Linked DNA regions of Homo sapiens: region 1 is linked to region 2. Evidence: promoter capture Hi-C in human tissues and cell types (Jung and others, 2019). All regions are on one chromosome and are shown on one strand. The core of a region is centred on a gene start or on the middle of the fragment in contact, and the rest is flanking DNA. Distances in the headings are between cores, read along the strand shown. Region 1 has its middle 35 kb from the start of LINC02351. Region 2 holds the start of PGPEP1L (pyroglutamyl-peptidase I like).

Region 1 (6,155 bases), core at 1,766-4,265, 550 kb after region 2:
ATCTGACAGCTTTAAAGATTCTTTCCTTTGTCTTAACTTTAGATAACCTGATGACAATGTGCCTAGGTGATAATCTTTTTGCGATGAATTTCTCAGGTGTTCTTTGTGGTTCTTGTATTTGGGTGTCTAGGGCTCTAGCAAGGCTGGGGAAGTTTTCCTCGATTATTTCCCCAAATATGTTTTCCAAACTTTTAGATTTCTCTTCTTCCTCGGGAGCACTGATTATTCTTACATTTGGCATAATCCCAGACTTCTTGGAGGCTTTGTTCATATTTTCTTATTATTTTTTCTTTGTCTTGTTGGATTGGGTTAATTTGAAGACCTTGTCTTTGAGCTCTGAATTTCTTTATTCTCTTTGTTCAATTCTATTGCTGAGACTTTCCAGAGCATTTTGCATTTCTATAAGTGTGTCTGTTGTTTCCCGGAGTTTTGATTTCTTTTTAATGCTATTTCCTTGAATATCTATTTCCTGCCTTCACTTCTTGTATCATTTTTTTGGATTTCCTTACAATGGGCTTCGCCTTTCTCTGGTGCCTCCCTGATTAGCTTAATAACTAATCTCCTAAATTCTTTTTCAGGTAAATCAGGTATTTCTTCTTTGTTTGGGTCCGTTGCTGGTGAGCTACTGTGATTTTTTGGAGATGTTAAAGAACCTTGTTTTGTCATATTACCAGAGTTGGTTTTCTGGTTCCTTCTCATTTGAGTAGGCTCTGTCAGAGGGAAGGGCTAGGGCTGAAGGCTTCTTTTGTCCCATGGGGTGTTCCCTTGATGTAGTGCTTTCCCCCTATTCCTGTGGATGTGGCTTCCTGAGAGCCAAGCTGTAGTGATTGTTATTTCTCTTCTGGGTCTAGCCAGCCAGCAAGTCTACCAGGCTCCAGCTGGTACTGGGGGTTGTCTGCACAGAGTCCTGTGATGTGAACCGTCTGTGGGACTCTCAGTCATGGATACCAGCACAGTATTTGGGGTGTCTCCTGGGTCCTGCAGGAGCAATCTGCTTCCTTCAGGGAGTCTGTGGGTCCTCTCAGGTTTCCTGATTTATTCCTGCAGTTGTTCTGGAGCAAAAATTTACAATGCGAGCCTCCACACACTGCTCTGTCTGTCCCAGTCAGAGCTGCAATCTAGTCCTGCCTCCCGTCCGCCATGTTCCCCAGTCGTGCCTTTTGAAACAAAACATTTAAAACATTGATGAAGTTAGGTTTGTCAATTGATTGTGTTCTGGGTGTTGAATCTAAGAACTCTTTGCCTAACCCAAGGTTGGGGAGATTTTTACTTTTTCTAAAAGCTTTATAGTTTTAGCTCTTACATTCATGTCTATGATCCATTTTGAATTATTTTTTTATGTATGATGTAAAGTAAAGGTCCAACCTCACTTTATAAAATACCTGATACATTAAAAAATATGAATAAGCTTTATTTTTAGAATAGTTTTTAGTTTTATAGAAAAATTGAGGGGCAAGTACAGAGTTCCAATGTATCCTCTCCCCCAATCATTTCCCCTATTGTTAACATATTGCGCTAGTGAGGTACGTTTGTTACAATTGATGAACCAATATTGACATATACACTAGTTTTCTAGGGCTTCCATAACAAAATACCACAGACTGGGTGGCTTAAACTAGGGGTCCCCAGTCCCCGGGCCATGGACTGGTACCAGTCTGTGGCCTGTTAGGAGCTGGGCTGCACAGCAGGAGGTGAGGGGTGGGCGAGTGAGCAAAGTTTCATCTGTATTTACGGTCACTCCCATTGCTCATGTTACCACCTGACCTTTGCCTCCTGTCAGATCAGTGGCAGCATCAGATTCTCGTAAGAGTGCGGACCCTACTGTGAACTTCACATGCGAGGGGTCTAGGTTGCGTGCTCCTTATGAGAATCTAATGCCTGATGATCTGTCACTGTCTCCCATCACCCCCAGATGGGACCATCTAGTTGCAAGAAAACAAGCTCAGGGCTCCCACTGATTCTACATTATAGTGAGTTGTATAATAATTATTTCATTATATATTACACCATAATAATATAAATAAAGTGCACAATAAATGTAATGCACTTGAATCATCCTGAAACCATCCCCTCCGTTTCCTGGTCCATGGGAAAATTGTCTTCCATGAAACTGGTTCCTGGTGCCAAAAATGTTGGAGACTACTGACTTAAACAACAGAAATTAATTTTCTCACAGTTATGGAGGCCAGAAGTTCAAGGTCAAGGTGTCAGAAAGCTTGTTTTCTTTAGAGGCTTCTTCTTGGCTTGCAGATGGCTGCCTTCTCACTATGTCCATACTTGGTCTTTTCTCTACTTGAGTATTGCTGGTATCTTTCTGTGTGTCCAGATTTCTTCTTATAGGGACACTAGTCCCTGTAAGAAGGTTGGAGTGGTGCATATCCTAATGCCTCCTTTTTAGCTTCATGACCTCTTTTAAAGGCCTTATCTCCAACCAGCTGCAAAGAAAGTATCTTCTGAGGTACTGTGGGTTTGCGAATGTGGGAGACACAAGGTTCAGCCTATAAGAATAGATTATCATTAACTGAAGTTCATAGTTTACATGAGAGCTTACTCCATGTTGTAACTTCTATGGGTTGTGACAAATGTTTAATGGCATGTGTCCACTGTTGTAATATCACACAGGGTAGTTTCACTGCCTAAAATTCCTCTGTACTCTGTCTACTCATCCTTCTTACTCCTGGCCCTGGTAACCACAGATCTTTTTTTTTGAGACGGGGTCTCACTCTTGTCACACAGGCTGGAATGCAGTGGTGTGATGTTGGCTCACTGCAACCTCCACCTCCCCAATTCAAGCAGTTCTCGTGTCTCAGCCTCCCAAGTAGCTGGGATTACAGGCATGAGCCACCATGCCTGGCTCAGTTTTTGTATTTTTAGTAGAGATGGGGTTTCGCCATGTTGACCAGGCTGGTCTTGAACTCCTGACCTCAGGTGATCCACCCACCTTGGCCTTCCAAAGTGCTCGAATTACAGGTGTGAGCCACCGCGCCCGGTCACCATGCCTCCCTAGTTTTGCCTTTTCCAGAATGTAATATACAGTCATTTGTCACTTAGCCACAGGGATATGTTTTGAGGAATGCATTGTTAGGCAATTGCATCATTGTGTGAACATGATAGAATGTATTCACATAAGACTTGATGGCAGAGCCTGCTGCACTCCTAGGCTGTGGAGTATGGCCTGTCATCTCTAGGCTACAAACCTGTATAGCTCGTTACTGTACTCATTACTGGAGGCAATTGTAACATAATGGTATTTCTGTATCTAAACATATGTAAATATAGAAAAGGTACAGTAAAGAGATTTAAAAACAGTATGCTCGTGTAGAGTACTTACCGTGAGTGGAGCTGCAGGACTGGAAGTTTCTCTGGGTGATTCAGGGAGTGAGTGAGTGGTGAGTGAATGTGAAGGCCTAGGACAGTACTGTGCACTACTGTGCACTTTAGAAACACTGTACACGTAGGTTACACTAAATGTCTACTTTTTCCTTCAATAATAAATGAACTGTAGCTTACTGTAACCTTTTTACTTTACAAAAACTTTTTGATTTTTTTAACTTTTTGACTCTTTTGTAATAACACTTGGCTAAAACATAAATACATTATGCAGCTGCACATAAATATTTTCTTATTCTATAAGCTTTAATTAAAAAAAATTTTTTTTTAAGTTTAAAAATATTTCTTGCTGAAAGCAAAGAGACAAACACACTCCTTAGCCTAGGCCTACTCAGGGTGAGGATTGTCAATATCACTGTCTTCCACTTCCACATCTTGTCCCACTGGAAGGTCTCCAGGGGCAGTAACATGCGTGGAGCTATCATTTCCTAGGATAACTGCCTTCTTCTGGAATACCTCCTAGAGGACCTGCCTGAGGCTGCTTTACAGTTAATTTTGTTTTTATAATGAGTAGAAGGTGTACGCTCTAAAATGACAATACAAATATAGTATAGTAAATACATAAACCAGTATCAGTCATTTATTATCATTATTGGGTATTAGGTACTGTGCATAATTGTATGTGCTAGACTTTTTTTTTTTTTTTGGCAGAGGCTTGTTCTCTTGCCCAGGCTGGAGTGCAGTGGTGCAATCTCGGCTCACTGCAATCTCTGCCCCCTGGGTTCAAGCAATTCTCCTGCCTCAGCCTCCTGAGTAGCTGGGATTACAGGTGCATGCCACCACACCTGGCTAATTTTTTTTATATTTTTGGTAGAGATGGGGTTTCACTATGTTAGCCAGGCTGGTCTCAAACTCCTGACCTCAAGTGATCCTCCCACCTCGGCTTCCCAAAGTGCTGGGATTACAGGCATGAGCCACCATGCCCGCCTGTATGTGCTAGACTTTTATATGACTGGCAGTGTGGTAGGTGTGTTTACCCCAGCATCACCACAAACACATGAATAGCGTGTTGCATTACGACTTTATGATGCCTATGACTATCACTAGGCGACAGGAATTTTTCAGCTGTATTTTAATCTTATGGGATCTCCATTGCACATGTGGTCCATTGTTGACTGAAACGTCTTTATGAAGCACATTACTGTAGTTGGAATCCAATGGAATGTCATTGTTCAGTTAGCTTCTTTCACTTAGTAATATGCCCTTATGGTTTTTCTATATCTTTTTATAGTAATAACTCATTTCTTTTTAGTGCAGAATAATGTTACATTGACTGGATAAGCCACAGTTTATCCACTCACCGTCCGAAGTACATCCTGATTGCTTCTAAGTTCTAGTAATTATGAATAAATATTTGTGTGCAGATTTTTGTGTGAACATCGTTTTCAACTCCGTTGAGTAAATATCAAGGAGTGTGACTGCTGAATCACAAGGTAAGAGTATGTTTAGTTCTGTAAGAAACTGCCAAAATGCCTTCCAAAGTGGCTGCACCATTTTGTATTCTGACAAGCAATGAATGACAGTTCCTGTTGTTCCACATCCTCACCAGCATTTGTTGTTGTCTGTGTTAAAGAATTTGGCTATTCTAGGCCAGGTGTGGTGGCTCACACCTGTAATCCCAGCACTTTGGGAGGCCGAGGCAGGCGGATCACCTGAGGTCAGGAGTTCGAGACCAGCCTGACCAACATGGCGAAACCCTGTCTTTACTAAAAATACAAAAATTAGTTGGGCATGGTGGCACATGCCTGTAATCCCAGCTACTTGGGAGGCTGAGGCAGGAGAATCGCTTGAACCCAGGAGGCGGAGGTTGCAGTGAGCTGAGATCGCGCCATTGCATTCCAGCCTGGGCAATAAGAGCGAAACTCTGTCTCAAAAAAAAAATAATTTGGCTATTCTAATAGGTGTGTAGTGGCATCTCATTGTTTAAATTTGTGATTTCCTAATAGCATATGATGTGGAGCATCCTTTCATATGCTTAGTTGTAGAATTACAAAGAGGATTTTGATAGAGCCAGCATTGAGTTTACAGATCATTTTGGGAAGAATTATTGTAAGAATTGAGTCATCCAATCCATGCACATGGAATTTCTCTTCATTTATTTAGCTCTTCTTTAATTTCTCTCAACAATGTCTTGTAGTTTTTGGTGTTCAAGATTCTTTTGTTAAACATACTCTTAATTATTTACTTCTTTTTAATGCTATTGTAAATTAAATTGCATCTTTATTTAATATTAAAGCCTTTTAGTTTTGGAAGACTTCACAATTACAAGAACATTGCTCTCATCTTCTATATATTGAAATAATATAATTGCAAGCAAGTTGGTACTGTCATCTCAAGCGCATCAAGCTTGAAATCCCAAATATTTTATAGTTACTGTCTCAAGAGAAATGAACTTCCTTATTGGCTGTAGATTATTTATTTTTAAATTCATTTTTGGTATGAAATAGTAACTGCTTATTTAGCTAACAATTCTTTTGCTTGGCATTTTAGGCTGAGCTCAGCTGGGTGATTTTCTAGTCTAGCTGGGCTTGCTGTTTATCCATGGTAACCTGCCTGTCAGGTGGCTCTGCTGCTTGGGGCTGGCGAGACATTCCCTGGGACCGCAGCAGTGCGTGGGCCATATTCCTTTCATGGTAGCAGGTCACCCTGGGCTTGCTTTTGTGGTGTGTTGCAGGGATCTGAGAGAGAACACAGGTACACTGGACCCCAGGAGGCCTAGGCTTAGAGTGGTGGTGCTGTCACTCTGCCTCATTCTGTTGACCAAA
Region 2 (5,685 bases), core at 2,425-4,924:
GGAGTTTGAGGATGCAGTGAGCTCTGACAGTGCCACTGCACTCCAGCCTGTGTGTCGTCAGAGAGAAACACTATCTCTTTAAAAAGAGAAAGCTATTAGCTTCAGTATATACCAGTCTCATATCTAACCATTTTTAAGAGGTCCAGTAATTTTTAAAAATCAATGATCATAAATATTATAATCGGATTGTCTATAAATAAGCTGGATCGCTAAGCCTTCCTCAAACCTACTCAGCCACTTAGCACTCACTTCTGACACGAAAGTTACCTTTGGCCCCAGTCAAGAAAAAAAGAAAAATGCCTCTTACATGTGTATACTGGAAAATAGCGGCCCCTCGAAGGCCTGGTGCATGTTTTAGTGTGGCCCCTCTTCCATTCCAAGAGGATATTAAGCTCTCTGCTGCACCCTCCATCTGGCCTCATTTGTCTACACAGGAATTTCCTCAGTGTTAAGAACACAAATGTTCCAGTCATTCCTAAGATATTTGTGAAATTTGAAAGAAAAATCCAGTATTTAAACAATAGGGGTAACAAGCTACTGGATTTTAACAAGTAGAAAACTTCCTTTTGCAACAGTTGTTACTTTGCAGTCAAGGAGCTGTAGTCCCTAAAAAAAAAAGTGATCAAGGCTTAGCAAAAGTCTGAGGGAAAAATATAAGACAGAAGAAAAATAAAGACAAATCCTTCTCCTACAAAATGTAACAGAAATATCACCTTGCGACAGAGTCTCACTCTGTCGCCCAGGCTGGAGTGCAGCATGCGATTTCGGCTCACTGCAAGCTCTGCCTCCCAGGTTCACGCCATTCTCCTCCCTCAGCCTCCCGATTAGCTGCGACTACAGGCACTACTAAAATTAGCCGGGTGTGGTGGTGCACACCTGTAATCCCAGCTACTCAGGAGGCTGAGGCACGAGAATTGCTTGAACCGGGAGGCGGAGGTTGCAGTGAACCGAGATTGCACCACTGCACTCCAGCTTGGGCCACAGAGTGAGACCCTGTCTCAAAAAAAAAAAAAAAAAAGTCTACTACATTTATTCATTTATTTTATGGCCCTTTTCAGAAATCGTGTGCTGGCTGGCCCCTGCTGGGGTACAAAGCTGCAGAGGCAGAGGTATAGAGGAGGGTGAGTTCTGAATCTGCCTTGGTAGAGTGACATTATTGGAGGATCCCTTAGTGCTTTGACAAGAAGCAATTTGGCTATGGGTTGTGTTTTATAGTAGAGCTAAGTCGCTTATCTGGAAACAGTGATGTTTGACATGGAGAAAGACTTATGTTATCATTATTTTGGAAATCACAAGTGCTTCTTGCTGATTGATTTATTTTCTCCCCACCTCCCAAAGGAATTTGACCAGTTTGATTAAATTTCATTTATGTCAAGTGTACAAAATGTGTTGTAAGAGCTGTTTGTGTCAGAGACAGTAAACAAACCCCTTTAATCTTTTTTCTTGCGAGAGCAGGAAGTCACCACTTGCCAATGAGAAATTTAAAACAAATCCCACAAAGTTTTGAGTTTAGTTCAGCACGTGAAATAGTTGAGGTCTTGGGATCTTGTAATCTTGGCAACTCCCATTTGCTGTCCCTGGTGAGAACACTTGTGTACCGTTGCTTACTTTCCGGTTCACTAAGAGGGTCGCACCTTGCCCTCTTAATCCTAGAGTCAAATCTGATTACAAACATTTTCCTCTCGGGAATCCCGCTTGTAAGGAAGATCACTGTGCTCTCTGTTAAATAAAACAGCTCCATTTAGTTGCCTTATTCGTTCTCAGGCTTACTGTATTTCATCAGCCTAAAGACTGTGTTTGACATCAATTATTAGAGACCATTTGTTTTTACAATGGAAAAAGAAATAAAAGTGCAGATGTTGAACCTCAAAATCCATACTTCTCAGAGCTATTTTCATTCCAGAAAGTAGGAATGTGCTGGGGGGTTCTTGTGTGGGGAGAGGGGAGGTGAATGAATACAAAAATAGACATATCACTGTGACTAAGTAAAATATTTTGTGTTGTTTTTTCTATTAATTTCAAAATTAGAGAAAACTTTAGAACAGAAAAAAATAAGTGAATTATGGGAAAGTGAAAACTGCAGGACACATTCCAGTTTAGTTAAAATAATAGCTCCTGTCAAATCAAAAAAAAAATGATGAAAATTTCAGCTTTGTTATCAGAAAAGTAGTATGGTTAAAGATGGGCAGTCTTTGCACTTAAGGAGTCTCCTTAAACACAAGTTCCCATTCCCAGACCTCATAGGTGAATGTTGATAGCAGAGTTGGACCCTAGCAGCAACCAACTTTACAAATGTGGGCATTTCTGGACGGGCGCGGTGGCTCACGCCTGTAATCACAGCACTTTGGGAGGCCGAGGCAGGTGGATCACGAGGTCAGGAGTTCAAGACCAGCCTGGCCAAGATGGTCAAACTCTGTCTCTACTAAAAATACAAAAAATAGCCAGGGCTGGTGGCAGGTGCCTGTAATCCCAGCTACTCCGGAGGCTGAGGGAGAGAACTGCTTGAACCTGGGAGGCGGAGGCTGCAGTGAGCCGAGATCGCGCCACTGCACTCCAGCCTGGGCAACAGAGCGAGACTACATCTGAAAAAAAAAAAAAAAGAAGAAGTGGGCATTTCTTAATGGTCCAATCTCTTCCTTTAACTGTGCAGAGGAAGCCAAGCCCCCACTGAGAGGTGACAACATGCTGGTAGGCCTCGCAGCCGTCACTCACTCTCGGCTCCTCTGCCTGGGCTCCCACTTTAACGGCACTTGAGGAGCCCTTCAGCCCGCCGCTGCACTGTGGGAGCCCCTTCCTGGGCTGGCCAAAGCCAGAGCCGGCTCCCTCAGCTTGCGGGGAGGTGTGGAGGGAGAGACGCGGGCGGGAACCGGGGCTGCACGCCGCGCTTGCGCGCCAGTGCGAGTTCCGGGTGGGCGTGGGCTCGGCGGGCCCCGCACTCCAAGCAGCCAGCCCGCCCCGCCGGCCACGGGCAGTGAGGGGCTTAGCACCTGGGCCAGCAGCTGTTAGTGCTCGACTTCTCGCGGGGCCTTAGCTGCCTCCGTGCGGGGCATGGCTCGGGACCTGCAGCCCGCCATACCTGAGCCTCCTCCCCCGCGTCATGGGCTCCTGCGCGGCCTGAGCCTCCCCCACGAGTGCCGCCCCCTGCTCCACAGGACCCAGTCCCATCGACCACCCAACGGCTGAGGAGTGCAGGCGCACTGCACAGGACTGGCAGGCAGCTCCACCTGCGGCCCTGGTGCGGGATCCACTGGGTGAAGCCAGCTGGGCTTCTGAGTCTGGAAGGGACTTGGAGAACCTTTATGTTTAACTAAGGGATTGTAAATACACCAATGGGCACTCTGTATCTAGCTCAAGGTTTGTAAACACACCAATCAGCACCCTGTGTCTAGCTCAGGGTTTGTGAATGCACCAATCGACGCTCTGTATCTAGCTACTCTGGTGGGGACTTGGAGAACCTTTGTGTCCACACTCTGTATCTAGCTAATCTAGTGGGGACGTGGAGAACTTTTGTGTCCAGCTCCAGGATTGTAAACGCACCCATCAGCACCCTGTCAAAACGGACCAATCAGCTCTCTGTAAAACAGACCAATCGGCTCTCTGTAAAATGGACCAATCAGCAGGATGTGGGTGGGGCCAGATAAGAGAATAAAAGCAGGCTGCCCCAGGTAGCAGTAGCAACTTGCTGGAGTCGCCTTCTGTGCTGTGGAAGTTTTGTTGTTTTGCTTGTTTGCAATAACCGTTGCTGCTGCTTACTGTTTGGGTCCGCACTGCCTTTATGAGCTGTAACGCTCACCGTGAAGGTCTGCAGCTTCGTTCTTAAAGCCAGCCACATCACGGACCCACCGGGAGAAACGAATAACTCCAAACACGCCACCTTAAGAGCCGTAGCACTCATGATGAAGGTCCGTAGCTTCACTCCTGAAGTCAGCGAGATCACGAATCTGCCAGAAGGAAGAAACTCCGAACACATGCGAGCATCAGAAGAAACAAACTTGGGACACGCTGCCTTTAAAAACTGTAACACTCACCGCCAGGGTCCGCGGCTTCGTTCTTGAAGTCAGTGAGACCAAGAATCCGCCGATTCTGGACACACCATGACGGAACTAGGTAAGTGATAGGAGCTAGGAGAGCTGCTCACCAGAGGAGGTAGAGACCAAGTCTACAAGTGCATCCGGGGTATATTGAGAAACCGGGTAACTTCTGTGAAATGAGGCAAAGTACAAAAATCCTCTGCATCCCACTCATGGCAAGGTGGGCCCAGCTTCTCAGGACAGGGAGTGGGAGACTAGTGGGAGCAAATGGCGCTTCCCACCTGTTGGCAGTGAAGAGGCCTGCAGCCCACACCAGGAGCTAATTAAAGGGAATTGTTCCTGGTTCAGAATCCCAGAAAGCCACCAAGGGGGGTCTAATCCGCGGGGGTGATCCCAATTAAAAGGGAGCGCTTTATATCAGGAGGACAATTCAGCAGATGGAGCCACGTGGTCCTGCTGTCACACTGAGCTCTCTAGAGGCCGCAGGGTGCTTGAGAGGCTCTGCCTGCTTCCCTGAAGGGAGCTTCTCCTCCCCAGACCTAGATGGGGACAGAGAATCATGGGTCTTCTTCCTCTTAATATACAGCTTCAGGAAAAAAGTATTTTCAGTTTAAAAAAAAGTTTAAGAATATTTTTAGAGACAGGGTCTCACTCTGTCACCCAGGGTGGAGTGCAGAGGTGCAGTTACGACTGACGGCTCAAGTGATCCTCCCGCTTCAGCCTCCCTGAGAAGCCAGGACTATGGGCATATACCACGTTTTGAAAAAAATAATTGATGCAGTCTTGCCACGTTGCCCAGGTTGATCTTGAACTCCTGGCCTCAGGCTATCCTCCTACCTTGGCCTCTCAAAATGCTGAAATTAAAGGCGTGAGCCAGTGCACCTGGCCAAAAGTTTGTTTTGTTTTTAAATAGAATTCTCCGAAAGATCAAGATATTGGAAAACAGCTTTTTCGATAGAGGAAATAGCCTCAAATGTTAGCCTTTTTCAGTTATTCTGACACATTAAAAAGAGGACTGTCTGCAGAGCCAGGTGGCATGCCACGGCTGTGGCTCACTGTCAGTGGCATGTTTAAGGAGTCCAGCACAGTGTCAAGAAAGCACTTTTCGCAGGTAGAACGCAGGGTGGTGAGCACAGAGCTAGCAAGCTTGCACAGACGCTAGCTAGGTGGCAAGCCTCTGTTCCTCAGGGCTGATGAAGCTGGGGACAGTGCCTGGGGCACAGAAAGAATCCATACAGGATCCGGTGCTGCGATCCTCGTTTCTCAAAACAGGAAACCTGAGCACAGAGGTTAACTTCCCTGAGGACCCACAGCTCCTAGGCAGCGGTGCTTGCAATCAATATTTTAAAGGCAGGCGCCATAAGATTCATCTATGGTTTTCTCTCTTTTTTTTCTGCTCACATCTCACATATTTTGTGGAATTAGTTTTCAGAGCAATCAAATTTTACCAAATCATAATGGCCAAACACAATGAGGGGCTCTGGCAGGGATTACTAAAGAGGAAAAAATAAGATCTAAGTAAACGACTTGTAGGGTAGCCCACAGTTCCTAGGACAGTACCTCTTTGAGCACCATGTGGTGTTCCGTCCCAGACATCCTTCTGTCCCAGGCAAACCGGGACAGCTGGTAGCCAAACCCTTAGCTCACCTTTGAA

The links. Contacts are between HindIII fragments. The study calls those that stand out against the background at their distance.
Region 1: a fragment that was not itself captured here is called in contact with the fragment with the promoter of PGPEP1L in region 2 in 4 of the 25 tissues and cell types used here (dorsolateral prefrontal cortex, hippocampus, mesenchymal stem cells and 1 more).

Annotation. Positions count from the first base shown.
Region 1 is chr15:98,453,054-98,459,208 of GRCh38, reverse strand. It overlaps the pseudogene FAM169BP. Among named protein-coding and RNA genes, the nearest start is that of LINC02351, 35 kb to the right of the region's middle. The HindIII fragment of the contact is 3,340 bases long and covers 1,346-4,685 here.
Region 2 is chr15:99,005,781-99,011,465 of GRCh38, reverse strand. PGPEP1L (pyroglutamyl-peptidase I like) reads left to right here and starts at 3,674. Exons shown (of 5, transcript NM_001167902.2): 1 at 3,674-4,107. The HindIII fragment of the contact is 12,693 bases long and covers 1-5,685 here.